2 separate regions of the Homo sapiens genome follow, and region 2 is linked to region 1. Evidence: promoter capture Hi-C in 16 types of primary human blood cells and fetal thymus (Javierre and others, 2016). All regions are on one chromosome and are shown on one strand. Each heading gives the region's core, a stretch centred on a gene start or on the middle of the fragment in contact. The rest is flanking DNA. Distances are from core to core; before and after follow the strand shown. Region 1 holds the start of BDP1 (BDP1 general transcription factor IIIB subunit). Region 2 overlaps MRPS27 (mitochondrial ribosomal protein S27).

Region 1 (7,002 bases), core at 2,684-5,183:
GAGGAGCTCTGGAGATGAACTGTCTGGGTTGAAAGTCCATCTCTACTAATTAGTAGCTGTGTCAACTTGGACAGTATTTCATTATGTTAAAGCGTTCTTACCTGTAAAATGGGGAGGTATGTACCTTCTTCATTAACTGAATTAACGTATGTGAAGTACTAGGTCCCCAGCATATGGTAGAACTCAATATGTTAGCTCTTACTGTCATTATTCTTTCAAATTCAGAGAGCCTCGCACACATCACTATCCTATCCCCACACCCCACCTCTCTTCCTTAATACTGCTAGCCTCTGCTTCCACTTAGTGAAGTAACTTGAAGGGAAAAGATTGACTTTCTGGCACCGTGTTTTGTTTTGGAGACAGTATCTAACTCTGTTGCCCAGACTGGAGTACACTGGCGCAATCTCCGCACACTGCAGCCTCAGCCTCCCAGGTTCAAGCGATTCTTGTGCCTCAGTCTCCCAGTAGCTGGGATTACAGGCGGCTGCCACCCTGCCCCGGCTAATTTTTGTATTTTTCGTAGAGACGGTTTTTTGCCTTGTTGGCCTGGCTGATCTTGAACTCCTGGCCTCGTGTGATCTGTCTGCCTCGGCCTCCCAAAGTGCTGGGATTTCAAGCATGAGATTTCAACCATTCCAACCTCTGGCACAGTTCTTTATAGAGATAAGGTCATCTAAAGAGGGAATGGGGTGGGATTGGAAGGTAAGTGGTAGAGTTTTTTTGTTTGTTTTGTTTTGTTTTTTAGACGGAGTCTCCCTATGTCGTCCAGGCTGGAGTGCAGTGGTGCGATCTCAGCTCACTGCAAGCTCTGCCTCCTGGGTTCACGCCATTCTCCTGCCTCAGCCTCCCAAGTAGCTGGGACTACAGGTACCCGCCACCACGCCCAGCTAGTTTTTTGTATTTTTTTTCGTAGAGATGAGGTTTCACCGTGTTAGCCAGGATGGTCTCGATCTCCTGACTTCATGATCCGCCTGTCTCGGCCTCCCAAAGTGCTGGGATTACTGGCGCAAGCCACCGCGCCCGGCCGGTGAGTAGCAGAGTTGTTTTTGTACGTGCTCTCAATTTAATCTAATTGAACATTTTTCTTTGCAGCTGAAATTTTGCAGTTCTTAAGTTGTAGGGCTACACATGATATACCCCATGTACACAAAATGTGTTGTGTGTGTCTCTCAGAGAAAAGTAGAGATTTAAAAAATTCGTATGATGCCACTAAGAATTTACTCCACAAACTTGTGTAACAAATGTCTTATGACTTTATATTTAATAATAAAATTTAATCTGATTCTGTTCCCATCCCTTTACTGGTGGGAAATTAAATCTTAGTCACTATTTACTTTCTGACCTGTAAAAACTTGGGACAATGCCCTAGTCTCTTAAGTGGAACAGAAGACCATCTGGGGAAAGGCCCTGTGTCTTCAGTTGGTATCAGAATATGCTGTTCAAAGCTGTGTAGACCTGGCAGTGGCTCCAAGATTCCTGAGACATCTTTAGCAGGGTATTCTCTCGAATTCTTGAGCTTCTTTAAATAAAGAAGATAAAACTGAGATACTGTTCCTTTTCCAGAGTATTGCAGGGAGCCCACGGAATCCACAGACCTCCTCTTTTCTCTTCCTTCCTTCCTTCCTTTCTTTCTCTCTCTCTTTTTTTTTTTTTTTTTGAGACAGGGTCTCACTTTGTCACCCAGGCTGTAGTGCTGTGGTGTGATCTTGGCTCACTGCAACTTCCGCCTCCTGGGCTCAAGCAATCCTCCAACCTCAGCCTCCTGAGTAGCTGGGATTACAGGCAGAAGCCACCATGCTCAGCTAATTTTTGTAATTTTGGTAGAGATGAGGTTTCACCATGTTGGCTAGGCTGGTCTTAAACTCCTAGGCTCAAGTGATTCGCCTGCCTCAACCTCCCAAAGTGCTGGGATTACAGGCACGAGCTGTGCCTGGCCTCCAGACCTTCATTTTCTTCATAGTCTTAGAGATATATGTTTTCTCTTCTCTGCTTTCAGTCTTGCCTTCCTACTCTCAAAAGCACTTGCCTCTTTTTTGTTCTCCCTTTAGGTGATCAATTTCTTCAGTCAGTTCAGAATTTTATTCCTTTGACCTTTTGTTATTAATGTATCACCATATTCTTGTAGGATTTTCTTTTCCTTCTAAGAAGAAAGTCAGGCCTTTGTGTTCCCATGAGTCAGGGGATTTGTATCACTGGTTCAAACATTGGCCCAATACCTCCAAGGCCAACCTCAGCTCTGGCTATTTTTCCTCTCATCATAGAGGACTTCCCTAGCCACTCTACTGCCAGCCTCCCTCCCATTACTTTCTATCACATCATCCTGTACATTTCTCTCTTTTTTTTCTTCTTATTATTAAATTTTTGTTTTAAGGACAAGGTTTCACTTTGTCACCCATGCTGGAGGGCAGTGGCACTATCATAGCTCACTGCAGCCTGGACCTCCTGCCTCAGCCTTCCAGGTAGCTGGAGCTAGAGGTGGGAGCCATCACAGCCACCGCATGTAGGTAATTTGTTTTAGGGGTCTCAATATTTTGAGCAGGTTGGTCTGGAAGTCTTGGGCTCAAGAGATCCTCCCACTTCAGTCTCCACAGTAGCTGGGATTATAGGCGTGCCTCGCCATACCCGGCATTCAACCCTTAAATTTATTTCATGACATTTGATATACTTTATTTTATTGCAATTAATTAATTAATTCATTTATTTTAAGACAGAGTCTCACTCATTCTGTTGCCTAGGCTAGAGTGCAGTGGTGCCATCTTGGCTCCCGGCAGCCTCCACCTCCAGGGTTCAAGCCATTCTCCTGTCTCAGCCTCCCATAGCTGGGATTACAGGCTTGCACCACCAGGCCTGGCTCATTTTTGTATTTTTAGTAGAGATGGAGTTTAACCATGTTGGCCAGGCTGGTCTCGAACTCCTGACCTCAAGCAATCTGCCTTGCCTTAGCCTCCTAAAATGCTGGGATTACAGGCATGAGGCACCCACGCCGGGCCTGATACATTTTAAAAATATCTTGTTCATTTCTTTTTTGTATTTTCTCCTCCCAAATCCAGAACGTCTTGTTTACTGCTACCTCCTGAAGCAGATTAAGAACACTCACAATAATTTACAAGGTTTCAACTATAATAATTTTTAAACAGGCTGGAGTGTAGTGGTACGATCTCGGGTGATACATTCATATTAAAAAGTACACAAGGAGGTTGGGCGTGGTGGCTCACGTCTGTAATCCCAGCACTTTGGGAGGCCAAATGGGTGGCTCGCTTGAGCCTAGGAGTTCAAGATCAGCCTAAGCAACATGATGAACCCCGTCTCTACTAAATATACGAGAAAAAAAAAATTAGCCGGGTGTCGTGGCGCGTGCCTGTGGTCCCAGCAACTTGGGAGGCTGTGACGGGAGGATCGCCTGAGCCCGAGAGGTGGAGGCTGCAGTGAGCCAAGATCGCGCAACTGCACACTCCAGCCTAGGCGACAGAGCAAGACCCTGTCTCAAAGGACAAAAACAAAAAAGTACACAAAGGCGTACGGTAAATGGTCTTCCTACCACGACGTGTTTTCCAGAAACACATTCCTCTCCTGGGAGGTAACTATTATCAGTTTCTTCACACCAGCATTTTTAATCTATGTCTACTCAATTTAGAATTTCTAAACCCTTCAGGATCTTCAAAAGACAAAATCGGCCAGCGATTTTAATAGTTCCAGTAAAGGTTTGAGCAGAGAAGTGGACTTTCTTCTGTTCCTCTTTTCAACTACTCCTAAGGACTCCTGGAGAAGAAAGAGCAAATATCTCTGCATCTCAATTTCTGGTCCGCAGGTAACCCAGTCTCAGTAGCTTGGTAGTTACCATGGCTCCCAGTGCTGTGCGTCTGACGTCATTCTGCGGCGCTGGCTGATGGCGCAATCAGTTGCGGCGTCCTGTGAGCGCGGGGATGCTGGGAGGAGGGTGAAATTTAGCCATCGGTGTGTGGCAGGGTCATGAAAAAGCGGCGGCGGCGGGAGAGAGGAGGAGGCGGCGGCGGGGCAGTGAAACTACGGTAGCTGCCCCCTGAGCTGGTGGTGTGGCTTTGTGGGGAGGGCGTAGTTCCTAATCCCCTTTCCGGGCAGCCGCCGGGGCTCGGGGCTGTGAGCGGCCGTGAGGCTGCCTCCCCGGGCCCCCTGCCTCCGCCATGTTCCGCAGGGCACGCCTTAGCGTGAAGCCGAATGTCAGGCCTGGTGTAGGCGCCAGGGGCTCCACAGCTTCCAATCCCCAGCGTGGACGGGAGTCTCCCAGGCCGCCGGATCCTGCCACGGACTCTGCTTCCAAGCCCGCGGAGCCCACAGATGTGCCCACAGTCGATTTCGGTGGAGCGGAGCCCCAAGAAAAGGCTCCTAGGAGCAGGTAAGAGGTTGCAGAGGGAAGAATTTTCATTTGTCCCGCCTCTCCGGGCATGTCACCTGGAAGCTGAGCAAATGAATTTTATCACAGGAGTCCGCTCTCGTTTGCAGTAAGCCTTTCAGTTGAGGCTTGATGAAACCACTCCAAACTGCAGTTTAGTTGTCTGACCTGCAGGGTGTGGCTTGTGTGGATTTTGTCACGGTCTATAGATTCTCCGAGAGGAGACCATGTCTTCAAGTGGTGGTAGGGAGAATCGGGGTATGGCAGTCCTGAAGTGAAGAATATCCACACTATTCATTTGAGAATTTAGGTCACTATAGTTTTCATCCTTCTGGAGTGCTTTGCAGGGAAGTGTTTTTGTCTTTCAATTTATAAAATATTTATTTTTTAAAGGAGAAGATAAGTATTGCTTTGGCTTTACCGATTTATGTCAGTGAGTAAGAGTTCTGGTCACTTAATTGAAGTGTGCCTCTTTAACTATGGTGACCGTGTTTCCTGAATAGAGAAGCATGGCTTTAGCGTCATGTATCATATTTGGATTCAGGACTCTTTTAGTCTACAGGTAAACTTTTCTCAGGCAGAATTTGCTCATCTGCAAAATGGGAATAATATTGCCTACTTGGAGCGTTTTGGTGCAGATTGGAGATAATTCATATTAACTACCTTGCAGGGGATATAGCAGAATAGTTGCCCGCAAAAAGTTACTAGTTTTTTAGAAAGGTGATGGAGTAAATTTAAGACATGTTAGGCTAAGATGGTCTCTGTTTCTATATATATGAGGAAATCAGTAAACAGCCTTGTTAAGTGAAGTGAGATAGTACAAATTCTGTTTATGCTGTGATAGGAAGGTGAAACATTTATTTATTTTTGGAACATCTTCCTCTATTGGCCTGAACTGGTGCTGAGTGTATGGTGTTACGTTGATAGTTCAGTGATGGTTAGTAATTTCCAAGTTTATTACATGAATCTGTTTCAAAATTTCTACACAGAAAGGAGATACCGATACTAGTCGCTGTTACATTAATAAAGTTCTCAGAGATTTCGTTAATTATGTGTGAGTGCGTGATGGTTGATAATTTAATAAATTGCCCAAAGATTGTAGTTTTGAGATATTTATGGTCAAGGATATTTAATTTTTTTTTTTGAGTTGACATTTACGTTTGGGGAATATAATTTGTTTTTTAGTCACTTTTTTTGCCATTACTGACTCTGGGAAAGTGGTTTTTTTTTTTTTTTTTAATTAGTTTTTTTTTTAGATGGAGTCTTGCTCTGTCGCCCAGGCTGAAGTGCAGTGGTACGGCTCACTGCAACCTCCACCTCCCGGGTTCTTGCAATTCTCCTGTCTCAGGCTCCCAAGTATCTGGGACTACAGGCGTGCCCCACCACGCCCAACTAATTTTTGTATTTTCAGTAGAGACAGGGTTTCACCATGTTGGCCAGGCTGGACTCGAACTCCTGACCTCAAGTGATCCACCTGCCTCAGCCCAAAGTGCTGGGGTTACAGGTGTGAGCCACCGTGCCCAGCCTCTTTTTATTTTTTTGTGGGTCTTTGCTAGTTGTAAAACTCTATAGGATATATATTCTGTCATTATGCATTCAACATAATTGGGTGAAATGCAGATAATGCATGTATCCATAACAGCTAAGATACGAATTTAAATTGAAGTCTTCCTGGAAAGGTTATTCTATAAGTTAAGGCATTTTCTAATTTTTTATAAGTAATTATAAAATAGGAAAAAAGTAGACTGTTTTTAATTATTGACTTATACCACCTCTTTTCTTGACTTAAGTTGCATTTATAGACCATTCCTGAAATACTTATATCTGAGGTATACCATACCTAATATGCAATTTGGGGTGACTGAGTACTTTTTTTGACTGAAGTTTATTCTGATGGCTGTATAAGTAGAGTTGTACCTGACAAAAGATAAATGATTTCTGCCTCAAAGGGAATTGGGTTTGGCTACTGTAACTAAATGTTTTTCTTCAAATACTGCAATACAGATATTTCAGAGGTTTGGAGTTTTGCATATTTGATTTGACTGACCTCGGGTTGATAAGTAAAGTAAAATGCCGGTAGTTTAGACCAGTTTAAAATGTCAGAGTGAATTAAAATTTTTTTAAATTTTATATAGAAATTAATTATAAATTATTACTTTGTTACTTAGTAATTCAAATTAGGTTGACTAAGCTTTGTTCTGTAAGTTGGTTATTTGTTTTGAGGGGGGTAAGCCTATAATTATGTGCTGTAATGTGCCTAGGGACTTTATGTTTGAAAAAGATTAAGAGTCTATTAGAATTTACGTATATTTAAAAGATTTACTAAACAAATTTTTTTGTAACCTGTCATAATTATCATAAATCTCAAGTTACTAATTTTTTTTTTTTAATTACGAGATTGCAGTTTTGGATTTTCACCAGACTAGGTTTTAAAACTAGCATGTGTAACAGAAGATTCATGTGCCCTCTTTTTTCTTTTTTAATTTCAACAGTACTGAAAAGACTGGTGGTGACAATGATGTTGAAGAATCCAGTAGATCTTCCTCTACTGTTTCACAGAGAAGAAAGCGAATATCAAGTACTTCTAGCCTGGTTAAGTCTAGTGTCAGTGTTCCTTCAGAATCTCATCCCTT
Region 2 (7,002 bases), core at 1,260-3,759, 790 kb after region 1:
TATACAGTAATAGTATACCTACAAAGGAACAGTGCTTGGAAAGGAATTCCAAATGCTGCTTTTTCCTTAGTTCACGCACATTGCTAACACCTGGGATGGAAGCTGCTACTCCCGGTTCCTGGGGTTCATGACAAAAGACTGACTGGAGATTGAGCTGCGAGATGGGGGTGGAAAGGGCTCTGTAGTCCCTCTTTTTATTTATCTACTTTGATTAGGATGGACCCTCATATGCTATACTATATCATGTTAGCTGAAATCCCTATGTTTTCCTGAATCATTCAGGAAGCAGGCCAATCGCTGGGCTCCACAAAAATCAAACTCTTTTTCTTAAAAAGAAAAAGGTGAGACAAAAACCTAGTGCTAAAGGATTCCATGCTATATTTGAGAGTCGAGGGTACAGATGAATACTAGTGGCTTTTAGAGGCTGATTATTCAGTCTGCCTCCTGCTATTTCTTGCCATCTGCTATTGGGATAGTTTCCTCTGAACAGGTTCTCTGCCAAAGTAATGGTTAAGAAAAGGAGAGGAAGTGAGAAATAGTATTTAATTTAGGATATCTATTAGTGCTCTGGTGAGAGATTTGGCAAAAATAAGATCCAAAGATGTTTTATGGATTTAGGGTCTTCTAGGCAGCCTGATTCTCTTCAATATTTTAGGTTTTGCTAGAAAATGTCTCTCTCACTCTATTTTTCTCTACAAATTAGCCCCTTTAAAATCAGAAATAGAGAAATATGTCAAATTAGGTTTAGAATAAGAGTGACGTGGCCAGAGAAAGGCATGGTATAGGGGACCTAGATACTCAATCTTATAAGATCTTCTGCACAGAAATGAAACAAAATATACCTTTAGTATTCCATGTTTTCCCTCATATTTGTTTTTATTTTTTTATTTTTATTTTTTGAGACAGGGTCTCACTGTCACCCAGGATGGAGTGCAGTGGTGCAATCCTAGCTCACTATAACCTCAAACTAACTCCTAGGCTCAAGCAATCCTTCCTCCTAAGCCTCTCGAGTAGCTGGGAGTATAGGTGCATGCCACTATGCTCAGCTTATTTTTTGTAGAAACAGGATCTCGCTGTGTTGCCCAGGCAACATTTTCAAATCAATAGTTTAGCTACTTGATTCTTGTTTCTCTGAACAATCTGAGATTTAACATGAAATGACCAATTAAAAATGAGTTTTATTTTTTAAAGAAAAAAGTCAAGTGAAGTATCAGGTGTACTGCTTCAACGATGGTGATGCTTCCTCATCAGCCTGTAAGTTCCTGTGTCAGCAGAGACAGAGACTGACTTGCTCAATACTGATTCCTGTACTGACACAATTCTTGGCCCATAGGTTTTTCAGCTAATTAAAAAAAGAGCTTTAATCAACACTGGTATTAAATGCTGTTATGTCCCGATCATTCTGTTAATGTCTATGGTATATATGAAGATATGTAAATTTCCTTTTCAGGGCATTTAGAGTCTCATTACAAAAACGATGCACACATAATTTAATAATAATACGAGGTGGAGCATGATAAGTGCTAAAGACAAAAGGGATTGCTAGAGGCTGAAGGGTTTTTGGTAGTAGCAGTTGTTGGGTTTAGTCAATTTTTCCTTTAAAAAGAAACAAAACGAAATATAATTATTTTTTGGTAATGACTTTGGGAAAAAAATATATCAAATGCCAATTACTACCCTCACTCAAGATTATTTTAAACCTAATACTCATTTTAAATCTAAGGTTCTGGCTCAGGATGTTTCCAATGGCCACTAAAGTTGTAACTTTTTTTTGATGATGAACTTTACAATAAGAATACCATGACCATATCCAACCAAACACCTTTCTCTTATTCATGATCAGCAGACCACTTTTAGGCTTTGAAAAAATAACAAAGACTGATAATGAGAGCCTAGTTTCAGACCTTCAAAGCTCAAATTAAAACATATTTAAAGCCATTTGCTAAGCTTCTAAGGCTAACTTCAACACAAGGAAGAGCAAGAAAGTCTTTTCTTCTCAAAAACCCTTCCTTCACAGACTTTCTCTCTTAGAAGCCTAAAGGGAAAGTTACTCAAGACTTCACACATCGAATACAATCATCTCTGCACAGCAGCCTTTTGAGATATTTGTCAAGACACTCAGAGAAGTCTTTAATAAGTCTACTCCCTCTCCTATCCTGGGACAAGGCTACTTGGTATGAGCTCTGCTCTCTAAGCCCTAACAATCTTAGACCCAATTATGTCTAGGGCATTTTCTTTTTTATTGTATATACATTTTGAGAGACAAAGTCTCATTCTGTCATCCAGGCTGGAGTGCAACTGCAAGATCACAGCTCACTGCAGCCTTGAACTCTTGGACTCAAGTGATCCTCCTGCCTTTGCCTCCTTCTTTATTTCTGTAGAGACAGGGTCTTGCTATGTTGTTCAGGCTGGTCTCAAACTCCTGGCCTCAAGTGATCCTCCCACCTCGGCTTCCTAAAGAGCTGGGATTATAGGCATGAGCCACTGTGCCCAGCCTTGGACATTTTCAATGAACTCTCACAAAAAATAAACTGAGGAAAAGCAGTGAAATACTTACACACATACTATAAAATATGCTGCCCAAAATGCAATTCCTGAATTTCCCAGCCAGGAAGCAAATGAACTCCTTTCTTGGCCCCCATCAGCATTAAAAAGATAAACTTACGTGAGTGGCTATCTGGAATATAAACAAGTCAAAACACTGGGCCAGCGGGGTTCAATTTTGGATGGCAAGTTTGAGAAGAATTCCTGTTGGTGACTTTTTAAGCAGTTCAGACAAATAAATGTGGGGACTTTTCAACTTCCAGTAGTAATATGTCAGGTGAGTGAGTCTCTGGAATGGGCACTTGCCTGGAATAATTCTGTGGATTGCTGGATGAGCATTCTCCCTTTCTGTCAGAAGAAAGGCAAAGAGAAAAGAATACAACTAACACATTGATTTTCCAATTTGCCTGCAAACAGACTGGCTTTTGTTCTCGCCTGCTCTGACCACCAGCCTGGCAGATTACAGCCAGCCACTGTAGGAGTCCCCTCTGTGCGCCTATGCCATCAGCTGTTTGCTCACCTCGACAGAAGCTTTATTATTGCCTAGGCCAACAGGCTGTCAAGATAGGCAAACATGTGAGTGTAGAAAAGAGAAACAAATACAACCCAAATATCCCCAACAAGGTTGTGCTCATGAAGGCTAAAGGTACTCTGAGATTTCAGCTTATAAAATGTGATTACACTTACAATTCTGAGGAAATGTGTATTTCTTGGAGGAGCATAAGAAAGAGTGACAAAGTGTACTCTCAAGTTCTAGCTCTAGTTCTAAAAGTTGGTATCCCATGGCTAAAGAGATCTCTGTCCCCAGTGTTGAGTAGGATTTTCAGGTGAAGACAGAGCTTGCCTAGGAAGCCAAACCACGGCCAATAAAATAGCAGGAACTGAGAAGCATCCTATTCTCAAAACTCAGGCCATACTCAGAACTCTTAAGGGCATCTGCCTGCACTGCTGCTCATTCAAGACTGATGTTACCAGGAAAGAAGGAGAGCAGAATCACAGGCTGCCAAAATGACATGGGAGTGAAAGTCTTGGATATCACAGAGATTTCTTAGAAGGGAAGAGAGGTTATATAAAAGAGATCAAGAGTGAAAAAAAAAAAAAAAACACCACAGACTGACTGTGATTATATAGGAGGTACTCTATTGTGTGTAAAAGTCGCATGGGATTTCTTGTTTGACCAATTTCGTCATTTAATTAAAAAAAAAAAGTGGCCTAGGCACAGTAGCTCATGCCTGTAATCCCAGCACTTTTGGTGGGTAAAGTAGGAGGATGTCTTGAGGCCAGGAGTTTGAGACCAGTCTAGGCAACACAGCGAGACCCCGTCTACACACACACACACACACACACACACACACACACACACACACTCACGGCACTCATAGCACACATACACACCAAAAATAGGGGGGAAAAAAAAGGAAAATATAGCCTTTCTTCCACGGGGTTGAAATAAAGGTTTTGTTATTGTTGAACGGCTAAAGTGGCAATGCTCATCAGCATTTTCGGTCTCACAAATAAAAATGCTCCAGGCTGGGCAGGCCCAATGCACAGATGCCAGAGCCTAGAGCCCAGCAGCTCACAGCTCCACCATTTAGCTGTAACACACTGGTTCTTCCACATGAATGAGCAAGCTTTCCACAATGTTTATCCGATTCCGAGAGCCACCAGCCCTAAACACACACATGCAGCTTTCCCTCCGCCCCAGTGAATTCTGTATCCTGTGGCAACAGGCTTTACAGATGGGAACCTCAGCCACGGAGCTGGGTAGACAGAGATGGGAGAGGGGGTCAGGGTAAAGGGAGGAAAGAAAGAATGCCAAGAAGAAAATATGGCTGGCTTCAAAGCCTGTAGTGTGGACTGAGGATCTTACCAATGAAGGAAAGTTAGCAACTATCAAAAGGAATGAGCGCTTCCTTGAACTAGAACCAAAGACCAAGAGTGTCATGTGACTATTTAAATCAGAATCTGATTCAATCACTGCTACTCACTTTCTCATTATTTTCTTTTTCATCCTGCTGGAAATTCTGCTTTCAGAATTGTTAATTTCAAAACTAACAATTATTAGTTGCCCTCAACTACCACAAATAAAATCAAATTTTGATGAGATAATTTTCTAATGACTATTATATTTTTGTCAAGTACTTAAAAAAAGAGGGCAGGGTTTAATACAGAAATCGATAATAAAAACATCAGTATTATAAGTTAAAATTTCCTGCTTGGGATCTCAGATTCTTACTCAAAGAATTTAAGGTAATTTTAACTTTCCACATACACACACTTAGCCTGCACAAAATAAAAGCACCAGGTGCTAGAGTCCCCTCCAAAACACCTCTCCCACCCTGCCAACAAAAGTCAACCAGATTGGGCTTGAATATTTCCAACGAATTCACTATCTACCTTCACAATACAGATAAAAATGTCTTTCTTTAAAAGTTCTAATTTTTAAAAAATTAAAGTCAAGTTTACAGAGATACAATGTACAAACAAAAAAATTCATACGTTCAGTTTACAGTTCTATGAATTTTGACAAATGCATCCAGTTGCATAATCATGACCACAATCAAGATAAGCCCCCTTTGTAGTCAACCTCTCCAGGGTTTGCTGGTCAATTTAAGCAAATTTTATATAGGTAACCTCCTTGGGTCCCTTTCCAGATCTAGAGTTATTAATTTTGTAAGAGGAAAAGCAAATAAGATAATAAAACCACCACAATATCATCTATTGGTTGGTTTATAATGTATATTCTGTCAATTTCCCAGAAGAATTTGAAAAAATTAAAACTCAGCTTGTGAGTAGTTTTTTTTTTGAGCCCTACATATAGTCATTAGACCTTCTGGAATCCCTGCCTGCTAATCTAAAAAGGGTGATGAGTAAGTAGATTTTTGGTAGAGAATAACAGGGGCATAGAATTTTGCAGATGTGGAGTGCTAAATAAATGCAGCATAACAACACATTTTTTGAAATGAAGATAGATAACAGAGGGACTTGTTAGATATCAAAGTCTGAATTTGTCAGACCAAGGGCTTAAAAAAGAGGCCCTTAGCATTTCACCTGGAAACACACTGGTATAAATATGACATACTAGAAACTACTCCAGGAGAGTTATTCTTATTATCCACATCCTCTCATGAAACAGAAAGCAATCAAAAGTAGGATGCATGTCACCACATTATTCTCTCTCCCTGCTCTCTGATCTGCCTGCTGTTTTGCCAGATCTAACTCTCAGTCTAGAAGACATATTTCTGCTTCATTTAAGTATTTACTGAGTAGCTACCTTTTGCTCAGGCATGGTGATCTATATTCTTTACCCACTGATCTACTAATTTCCTTTAATTCCAATTTTTTTTTGTTTTTTTAAGTAGAGACGGAAGTGTTGCTATGTTGACCAGGCTGATCTCAAACTCCTGGCCTCAAGTGATCTTCCTGCCTTGGCCTCTCATCATGCCTAGCCCTAACTCCTATCTTAAAGATGACATCTCTCCCTTTCTGATACAGAAAAAATACCTATAGACAGACTGTAAGCTCTGCTGCTCTCTCTCTCTCTCTCTCTCTTACTTTCATGGTACATAAGGGAGGCAGTCAGAATGAAGTCAGTTGTGTTCTTTGTCTAAAGCCTGGAACACTATTTTATCAGCCTCCAAAGAGCAATATGTGTAGATAACCAGGGAGGATTACTTGTGGGGAGAATGGGAGAAGAAACAAGTATTTACAGTCATCACTGAGGTGCCCATCTGGAGATGGTCCTAAAAGCAGAAAATGGCTTTGTGGCCACCACCTGACCTATCAGTGAAACTGCACCCAGAAGCAGCTGGTAAGACTTCTCCAGCCTCTCTAAAGCTATACACACACTGGCTCACAGGTCAGCTTCATGACTGAGAGGCAGTTACTGAAGGCCAAGGTTAGGCTACAGAGGGCCTTTACCTAGGAACAGCAGGATGTTGAGAAAAACTGGATCCCGGAACCAGTCCTGTTTATAAAAGCATATAAAGTTATGGAAACTGGCTTGGTTTGGACAGAGATAAGCGAAATATTTTGGTTTTTGAGTAGGAAATTTATGAGCAATAAATGAGCCAGTTTTAAATACATGCAAACATTTCCTGATGTCTCCTAAAGCTTTGGCTAGGAACTGCAGATAAAATTTCTGCAAAATCACAAATAATACAATGATTAAGATAGGAAAATCACATATATTAATTAAACACTGGTTTTGAATAATTCTGGGAAAAAGAAAGGTGAGAAAGAAAAAAAAGGAGGAAAACAAAGGAATAGAATAGAAATAAAAACCAGAATTTCTGGAGTATGCTAGGCTTAGTGAAGTTGTCAGGATTAAGTCTGCCACAAAAGAAATGAGCAGGCAAAGAGCCTGGCCCAGGAGATGAAGCACACCAGGGTAAAAGCAGAAAAGAATTAAGCCAGTGTTGAGCAGATTTATATGTGTTTGTATGTGAGATTACGGAT

The links. The method cuts DNA at HindIII sites, captures the fragments that hold promoters and counts their contacts. A CHiCAGO score of 5 or more calls a contact.
Region 2: a contact is called between a fragment that was not itself captured here and the fragment with the promoter of BDP1 in region 1, in 1 of 17 cell types (neutrophils). The highest score is 5.7, in neutrophils.

What each region holds. Positions count from the first base shown.
Region 1 is chr5:71,451,718-71,458,719 of GRCh38, forward strand. BDP1 (BDP1 general transcription factor IIIB subunit) reads left to right here and starts at 3,934. Exons shown (of 39, transcript NM_018429.3): 1 at 3,934-4,372; 2 at 6,862-7,002. The coding sequence starts at 4,161. RefSeq lists enhancers at 2,869-3,795, 3,796-4,721. The HindIII fragment of the contact is 8,261 bases long and covers 1-6,558 here.
Region 2 is chr5:72,238,797-72,245,798 of GRCh38, forward strand. The region is part of intron 4 of MRPS27 (mitochondrial ribosomal protein S27); the gene reads right to left. Among named protein-coding and RNA genes, the nearest start is that of MIR4803, 73 kb to the left of the region's middle. RefSeq lists a silencer at 6,206-6,500. The HindIII fragment of the contact is 1,128 bases long and covers 1,946-3,073 here.